2 separate regions of the Homo sapiens genome follow, and region 1 is linked to region 2. Evidence: promoter capture Hi-C in 16 types of primary human blood cells and fetal thymus (Javierre and others, 2016). All regions are on one chromosome and are shown on one strand. Each heading gives the region's core, a stretch centred on a gene start or on the middle of the fragment in contact. The rest is flanking DNA. Distances are from core to core; before and after follow the strand shown. Region 1 has its middle 150 kb from the start of LINC01482. Region 2 holds the start of ABCA9-AS1 (ABCA9 antisense RNA 1).

Region 1 (4,097 bases), core at 1,476-3,975, 220 kb before region 2:
ATAATGAATCTCCAAAATGGGATTAATTATAGCTTCTCTTCTTCTTTCATAGGATTGTTGTGTGAAACAAACAACACAATGCATGTAAAAGTACTCTGTCGTGCTAAAACATCATGCTGATGCCATTACCAAGAGATTCATTGCATATCAAAAGTCATATTGTTGATTAGCATGGAATGCAAAACTCTCCATCCATTCATTGATTCATTGGTTCATTATTTATTTAAAAGCTACTATGTGCTCACGTAATGTATTTTAAAGTCCTTTTTTCTCTAAGTTTCCCTGGTTTTCATCCCTCCTGTTGTGTGTAGATCCAGAGCCACAGACTCACTGCTTCATGCTTCTAGGTTCAGAGCCAAATTCTACCCATTAGCTGACAGAAAACATACTTTCTGCTTCTTGAGAATTTGCACATTGCCAGACCCTGAGTCTCCCTGCTCCTAAGCCACGGTCAGGGGTGCTATGTCAGTACCCCTGATGGGTAGAGTGTAACCTTACAATAAATGCTGCTCTTCATAGAGAGATGTCTACTAGTGCTCTTTAATACTTAGTCCCTCAACAGTGGGCAGTGTGGTCCAGGAATCTTTCCTTATCAGTGATGATCAATGATAATCACATTCAGTTATTTGATCATGTTCCTGCCTTAACTTTTACCCTGGAGGACAGAGACATGTAACTGGACCCATGGAATAGGCTCAGGGTCTTATAAGATGGCAAAGCATGGAAGTTTTATACACGGACCCTGGGGTCAGATTCATCTTTGTTCCAGTCCTACCTTCACTGTTCAATATTTAGGAACCTCTGATAAGTTACCCAAAGCATTTGTTTCCTCATTGTGAATAAGAAATAACAAATGTGTACAATAAGGTAGTATGTAGAATAGGGTAATTGTGAAGATTAAAATTAAATACTGCACTTAAGTAATTTAGCATAGTGCCTGGCATACAATAAGTTCTCAATAAATAATAATAAAAGAGAAGCATCAAAGAAGGAGCTTCTGGTTTCTGGTGTCTCAATGCCTGGGAGTTTCCACGGGTCCCAGGAAACAGGTTTATTATTAAGAACATCAAGCACCATCCTTCCACTAGTGCAAGGCTTCTGAACAGAGGCGCTATTGATATTTTGAGCTGGATAATTCTTTGCTCTGGGTAGCTGCCCTGTTTAGATTGTTGCTGGCCTTTCTACACCACATACCAGTAGCATCACCCTCTGCACTGCCCAAGTTGGGACAATCAAAAATATTTCCAGACATTGCCAAATGTTCCCTGGGAGGCAAAATCCCTCCTGGCTGGGAATGTCTCCATTAGACCAGAAACAGATTGCTGAAACATGGCTTGAACATATTGTAACATATTCAGCTGTTCGTGTGCTTCTAGATCAATACTACAATTTTTTATTTTTATTTTTTGTCCCCTCTATTGCCGCAATACTGAAAAACACGCCATTACATATGAACATAACAACTAAATATATACTTAATAATAACAATAAAAGCAAATATTGAATAAGAATTATTAAAATATTTTATATTGTAAATTTATCCTGGAATTATAAAATAGATGCAGTCCCTTATAGAATATTATCAATTTTTAAAAGCATTTTTGTTATTTTGTTTTTTATATTTAAATATTTTATGTAATTTATTTTGGTGTAGAGTGTGAGGTCTGGATCCGCCTTATTTATTTATTTTTTTAGATGGTTAAACTTTGTCTTAACACTACTTGTTGAATAATCTGTGTTTTCCTAGCTAACTTGAAATGGCGTTGTATCCTATTAAAAAAATTCTCCTGTTTCCCTGGTCTGTTTCTGGGCTTTCTGGTTCATTCTATTGATGTCTACTTATGGATGTTCCAGCTGGTGACTGCTGTTTTAGTGATTTGTTGAGCACTTACTGTTCTCTGTGTGTGGTTTTATCTTATTTTTATTTTTTTGAAAAACTTAAGATATAAATCTCTTACCCTAAAACTCACTATTTTAATGTACATGATTCAGTGGTTTTTAATATATTCAAAATGTTGTACAACTATCATTATTGTCTAATTACTGGACCTTTCCATCACCTCAAAAGGTTAGCAGTCGCTCTCAACTCTCCCCTAACACCACCAGTCCCCCTACCAGTAACTCACAACCACTAATCTTTGTGGTTCCATAGATTTGCCTATTTAGAACATTTTAGATAAACGGAATCACACCATATATAGCCTTTGTATTTGGCTTCTTTCACTTAGCATAAGATTTTCAAAGTTCATCTACATTTTAGCATGTATCAGCACTTCATTCCTTTTTATGGTGCAGTAATATTCCATTGAATGATTATGCCACAGTTTGTTTATGCATTCATCAATTAGTAGATATTTGTGTTGTTTGTACTTTTTGGTTATTATGAATAATGCTGTTATGAACATTTACGTGCAAACTTTTGTTTGAGCACACATTTTCAATTCTCTTGGATTCATATCCAGTAGTGGAATTGCTGGACCACATGGTAAATCTTAACATTTTGAGGAGGCACCAGACTGTTTACCACAGTGTTGAACCATTTTACATTCTGACTAGAAAGGCATGAAGACTTCAATACATCCACATATTCACCAACATTATTTTCTGTTTTTATTTATTTGTTGTTTTTATTATTGTTGTTGTTTATAGCCATCCTAGTTGGTATGAAGTTGTATCTGATTGTGGTTTTGATTTGCATTTCTCTAATGTCTAATAATATTGAGCATCTTCTTATGTGCCTATTGGACATTTGTATATCTTGTTTAGACTAATGTCTATTCAAATCTTTTGTGTATTTTAAAATTGGGCTATTTATCTTCTTATGTCAAGTTTCAAATTTTAAAAAATATATTCTAGATATTAGACCCTTATTATATGTTTGATTTACAAATATTTTCTCTTATTCTGTGCATTCTTTGTTCACTTCTTTGATAGTGTTCACTGACACACAAAAGTTTTTAATTTTGATGAAGTTCAGCTTGTCAGTTTCTCCTTGTTTGTGCTTTCGGTATAATGTTTAAGAAAGGTAACTAAGATTTACACCTATATTCCTTTTTAAGAGATTTCTAGCTTTACCTCTTACATTTACATTTTGGGTCCATTTTGAGTTAACTTTTGTATATGGTGTGAGGTAGGGGTCCAATTTTATTCTTTTTCATATGGATATCTTAAGCTGCCCTCTCGTCTTGTACTTTTGTGTTGAGAAAAGGTCTATCAGAGTCTTGGCAACTAAGCAATTTTCAAATTAGGAATCTGATTACTTAAATTCAGTATTAAACATGTGTAGCTGGAACCATGATTTGGATGCCAATTTTTATGAAACAGACTCTCATTCTTACAAACCCCAAGGACTCTTAAATCATCATGATGGCTTTTCTGTATAGAATTCTGAGGCTTCAGATGATGTGCCAGTGGAGGAGCCATTGGCTAGGACAGAGACATCTTTTAGGCAGATGGAGATTTTGGCTGAAATGGCATTTGAATAATGGAATGCGGCTTGCAGGGATCTTGCAACATTGAGTCCTGGGACTGAAGAGGGATAATGTAATGACATGGTCAGTTCATGGCCCAAGTTCAGGGAGGGCAGCAGGCTTTCCTCTGGGGAGTGTCTCTCTTCTTTCCTGCATGCCATAGGCACTTAAAAATATGAGACATATCAGACTCAGAAACATGCTAAAAATTCCACCATTTCCAGAAAAGGAGATGCAGAGATTAAAGTGAGTGGCATTAAGAGATTTTATTCTTATTCAGTAATAGGTAAGCGCGCTCTCTCTCTCCCTTTTATTTTTTATTTCATTTTATTTTTTAATATTAATTTTTTTTGAGACAGAGTCTTGCTCTGTCACCCAGGCTGGAGTGCAGTGGCATGATCTTAGCTCACTGCAACCTCCGCCTCTTGGGTTCAAGCAATTCTCATGCCTCAGCCTCCCAAGTAACTGGGATTACAGGCATGTGCCACCATGCTCGGCTAATTTTTTTTTGTATTTTTAGCAGAGACAAGGTTTCACCATGTTGCTCAGGCTGTTCTCAAACTCCTGAGCTCAGGTGATCTGCCCGCCTCAGACTCCCAAAGTGCTGGGATTACACGCATGAGCCAC
Region 2 (3,846 bases), core at 782-3,281:
TGTCTCGTTGATCTGTCTAATGTTGACAGTGGGGTGTTAAAGTCTCCCATTATTATTGTGTGGGAGTCTAAGTCTCTTTGTAGGTCACTCAGGACTTGCTTTATGAATCTGGGTGCTCCTGTATTGGGTGCATATATATTTAGGATAGTTAGCTCTTCTTGTTGAATTGATCCCTTTACCATTATGTAATGGCCTTCTTTGTCTCTTTTGATCTTTGTTGGTTTAAAGTCTGTTTTATCAGAGACTAGGATTGCAACCCCTGCCTTTTTTTGTTTTCCATTTGCTTGGTAGATCTTCCTCCATCCTTTTATTTTGAGCCTATGTGGGTCTCTGCATGTGAGATAGGTTTCCTGAATACAGCACACTGATGGGTCTTGACTCTTTATCCAGTTTGCCAGTCTGTGTCTTTTAATTGGAGCATTTAGTCCATTTACATTTAAAGTTAATAGTGTTATGTGTGAATTTGGTCCTGTCATTATGATGTTAGCTGGTTATTTTGCTCGTTAGTTGATGCAGTTTCTTCCTAGTCTCGATGGTCTTTACATTTTGGCATGATTTTGCAGAGGCTGGTACCAGTTGTTCCTTTCCATATTTAGCACTTCCTTCAGGAGCTCTTTTAGGGCAGGCCTGGTGGTGACAAAATCTCTCAGCATTTGCTTGTCTGTAAAGGATTTTATTTCTCCTTCACTTATGAAGCTTAGTTTGGCTGGATATGAAATTCTGGGTTGAAAATTCTTTTCTTTAAGAATGTTGAATATTGGCCCCCACTCTCTTCTGGCTTGTAGGGTTTCTGCCGAGAGATCCACTGTTAGTCTGATGGGCTTCCCTTTGAGGGTAACCCGACCTTTCTCTCTGGCTGCCCTTAACATTTTTTCCTTCATTTCAACTTTGGTGAATCTGACAATTATGTGTCTTGGAGTTGCTCTTCTCGAGGAGTATCTTTGTGGCGTTCTCTGTATTTCCTGAATCTGAACGTTGGCCTGCCTTGCTAGATTGGGGAAATTCTCCTGGATACTATCCTGCAGAGTGTTTTCCAACTTGGTTCCATTCTCCCCATCACTTTCAGGTACACCAATCAGACGTAGATTTGGTCTTTTCACATAGTCCCATATTTCTTGGAGGTTTTGCTGATTTCTTTTTATTCTTTTTTCTCTAAACTTCCCTTCTCGCTTCATTTCATTCATTTCATCTTCCATCGCTGATACCCTTTCTTCCAGTTGATCACGTGGGCTCCTGAGGCTTCTGCATTCTTCACGTAGTTCTCGAGCCTTGGTTTTCAGCTCTATCAGCTCCTTTAAGCACTTCTCTGTATTCGTTATTCTAGTTATACTTTCTTCTAAATTTTTTTCAAAGTTTTCAACTTCTTTGCCTTTGGTTTGCATGTCTTCCCGTAGCTCAGAGTAATTTGATCGTCTGAAGCCTTCTTCTCTCAGCTTGTCAAAGTCATTCTCCATCCAGCTTTGTTCCGTTGCTGGTGAGGAGCTGCACTCCTTTGGAGGAGGAGAGGCGCTCTGATTTTTAGAGTTTCCAGTTTTTCTGTTCTGTTTTTTCCCCATCTTTGTGGTTTTATCTACTTTTGGTCTTTGATGATGGTGATGTACAGATGGGGTTTTTGGTGTGGATGTCCTTTCTGTTTGTTAGTTTTCCTTCTAACGGACAGGACCCTGAGCTGCAGGTCTGTTGGAGTACCCTGCAGTGTGAGGTGTCAGTGTGCCCCTGCTGGAGGGTGCCTCCCAGTTAGGCTGCTCAGGGGTCAGGGACCCACTTGAGGAGGCAGTCTGCCCGTTCTCAGATCTCCAGCTGCGTACTGGGAGAACCACTGCTTTCTTCAAAGCTGTCAGACAGGGACATTTAAGTCTGCAGAGGTTACTGCTGTCTTTTTGTTTGTCTGTGCCCTGCCCCCAGAGGTGGAGCCTACAGAGGCAGGTAGGCCTCCTTGAGCTGTGGTGGGCTCCACCCAGTTCGAGCTTCCCAGCTGCTTTGTTTACCTAAGCAAGCCTGGGCAATGGCAGGCGCCCCTCCCCCAGCCTCGCTGCCGCCTTGCAGTTTGATCTCAGACTGCTGTGCTAGCAATCAGCGAGACTCCGTGGGCGTAGGACCCTCTGAGCCAGGTGGGGGATATAATCTCGTGGTGCGCCGTTTTTTAAGCCCGTCGGAAAAGTGCAGTATTCGGGTGGGAGTGACCCGATTTTCCCGATTTTCCAGGTGCCGTCTGTCACCCCTTTCTTTGATTAAGAAAGGGAACTCCCTGACCCCTTGCGCTTCCCGAGTGAGGCAATGCCTCGCCCTGCTTCGGCTCGTGCATGGTGCGCGCACCCACTGACCTGCGCCCACTGTCTGGCACTCCCTAGTGAGATGAACCCGCTACCTCAGATGGAAATGCAGAAATCACCCGTCTTCTGCGTCGCTCAGGCTGGGAGCTGTAGACCGGAGCTGTTCCTATTCGGCCATCTTGGCTCGTCCCTCCTGGCTTATCTTTTTCTCTGAGTAATATTTTGATGTAGGGCCTTGCTTTCTATCAGTACCTTTGAAGCCTGGAGGCCTAGATGCATACAGCGTCCTCAGCTTAGGCTGTGTGTAGCCTTATTGCTTTCTCCTTTAGGTCATGTCCAGTGTTCTGCACCAGTTTTCACCCTACCTAGTAGGCAGTGAATCTCATTGTCAAGGGGTGGGCACCCTATTAGACGTTGGGCCACAGTCCAATTCAGTCCAGAGCCCTGTAAAATAGCAAACCTCAGCATCCCACCTCTCCAGGTGAAGCATTCTTCTCTCAAGGGTTTTTATTTACCTGTGCTAGGATGTTAACTCAGTCACTCATGTATACCTTTTTAGAGCCAATTATTAGCATTTTATCAACTAAGTTTTCCTCATCAAAATTGCTTGTTGAGGATGGAAGTAGACTTAGGAAAAGCTCCGTATCAGGGACTTCGTTCCTTGGCCACCACATTTCCACTTCGGTTTTCTTTGTTTCGTTCTACCCTGCTCTACGAACAAAGAGGTTCTCTGTCTACATACCTAATCAAATATAACTTGTATGATGTTTAATTTAAATTTCTACATGCTGGCTTATTTTTTTTTCCAACTAATCTTCTAGTTCTGAAACAGGTGATTTAAGTTCCACTTGGATCTTTGGAGAGGATTGTGTGATGTATTTTGCTGTTGTGTATTATTTGCTAAACAAATAAGGAGACTTCCATTTTCTGCATGGATTTTGCATTTTGTCAACATATTTCTTTCCTTATTTAAGACTTTAGGTCTAGAACTTGACTTCATCTGCTATTTGGGCAGCCATTTCTAATTTCCTCATTTTAAAAATGCCTGTTAAGTCATTGCCCATGACTTAGATGTGTTTATTTTAACAAACATATAGCTAATTTTTTTAACCCAGTCTGGAAGTCATTGTCTTTTCTTCTTATTTTCTAATTTGTATTTACTCATGGTATTTTATTTTAGTTTCTTTCAAATGTGAGGCATCCCCCATATCATCCCCTGGAATTCTCATACTCTGTGGGTGGTTCCACCTCTTTGAAAAACTGTTTGGCAAGATCAACTAAAGTTGAACATAAAGTTGAATACATTGTGACCTAGTAATTCCACTGCTAGGTTTACATCTCAAGATATACACACACATGCAACAAAAGACATACAAGAACAAGAAAGTTCATGGCAGTGTTATTTATAGCAGTTCAAAACAAGAAGCCACTTGAATGTCCATCAACAATGAATAAATAAATTATAGCACATTCATCAGTAGACTATTACAGCAATGAAAAGGAATAAACTATTCTGGTTGTTATCAAATGCAACAGCATGGATGATTCTAAATAACCTATTGTCGATTATATA

What was found. The method cuts DNA at HindIII sites, captures the fragments that hold promoters and counts their contacts. A CHiCAGO score of 5 or more calls a contact.
Region 1: a contact is called between a fragment that was not itself captured here and the fragment with the promoter of ABCA9-AS1 in region 2, in 1 of 17 cell types (M2 macrophages). The highest score is 5.6, in M2 macrophages.

Annotation. Positions count from the first base shown.
Region 1 is chr17:68,779,525-68,783,621 of GRCh38, forward strand. No RefSeq gene overlaps it. Among named protein-coding and RNA genes, the nearest start is that of LINC01482, 150 kb to the left of the region's middle. The HindIII fragment of the contact is 5,949 bases long and covers 1-4,097 here.
Region 2 is chr17:69,002,683-69,006,528 of GRCh38, forward strand. It overlaps ABCA9-AS1 (ABCA9 antisense RNA 1), which reads left to right and starts at 2,032. Exons shown (of 4, transcript NR_126414.1): 1 at 2,032-2,111. All of the region lies in intron 25 of ABCA9 (ATP binding cassette subfamily A member 9), which reads right to left. The HindIII fragment of the contact is 13,565 bases long and covers 695-3,846 here.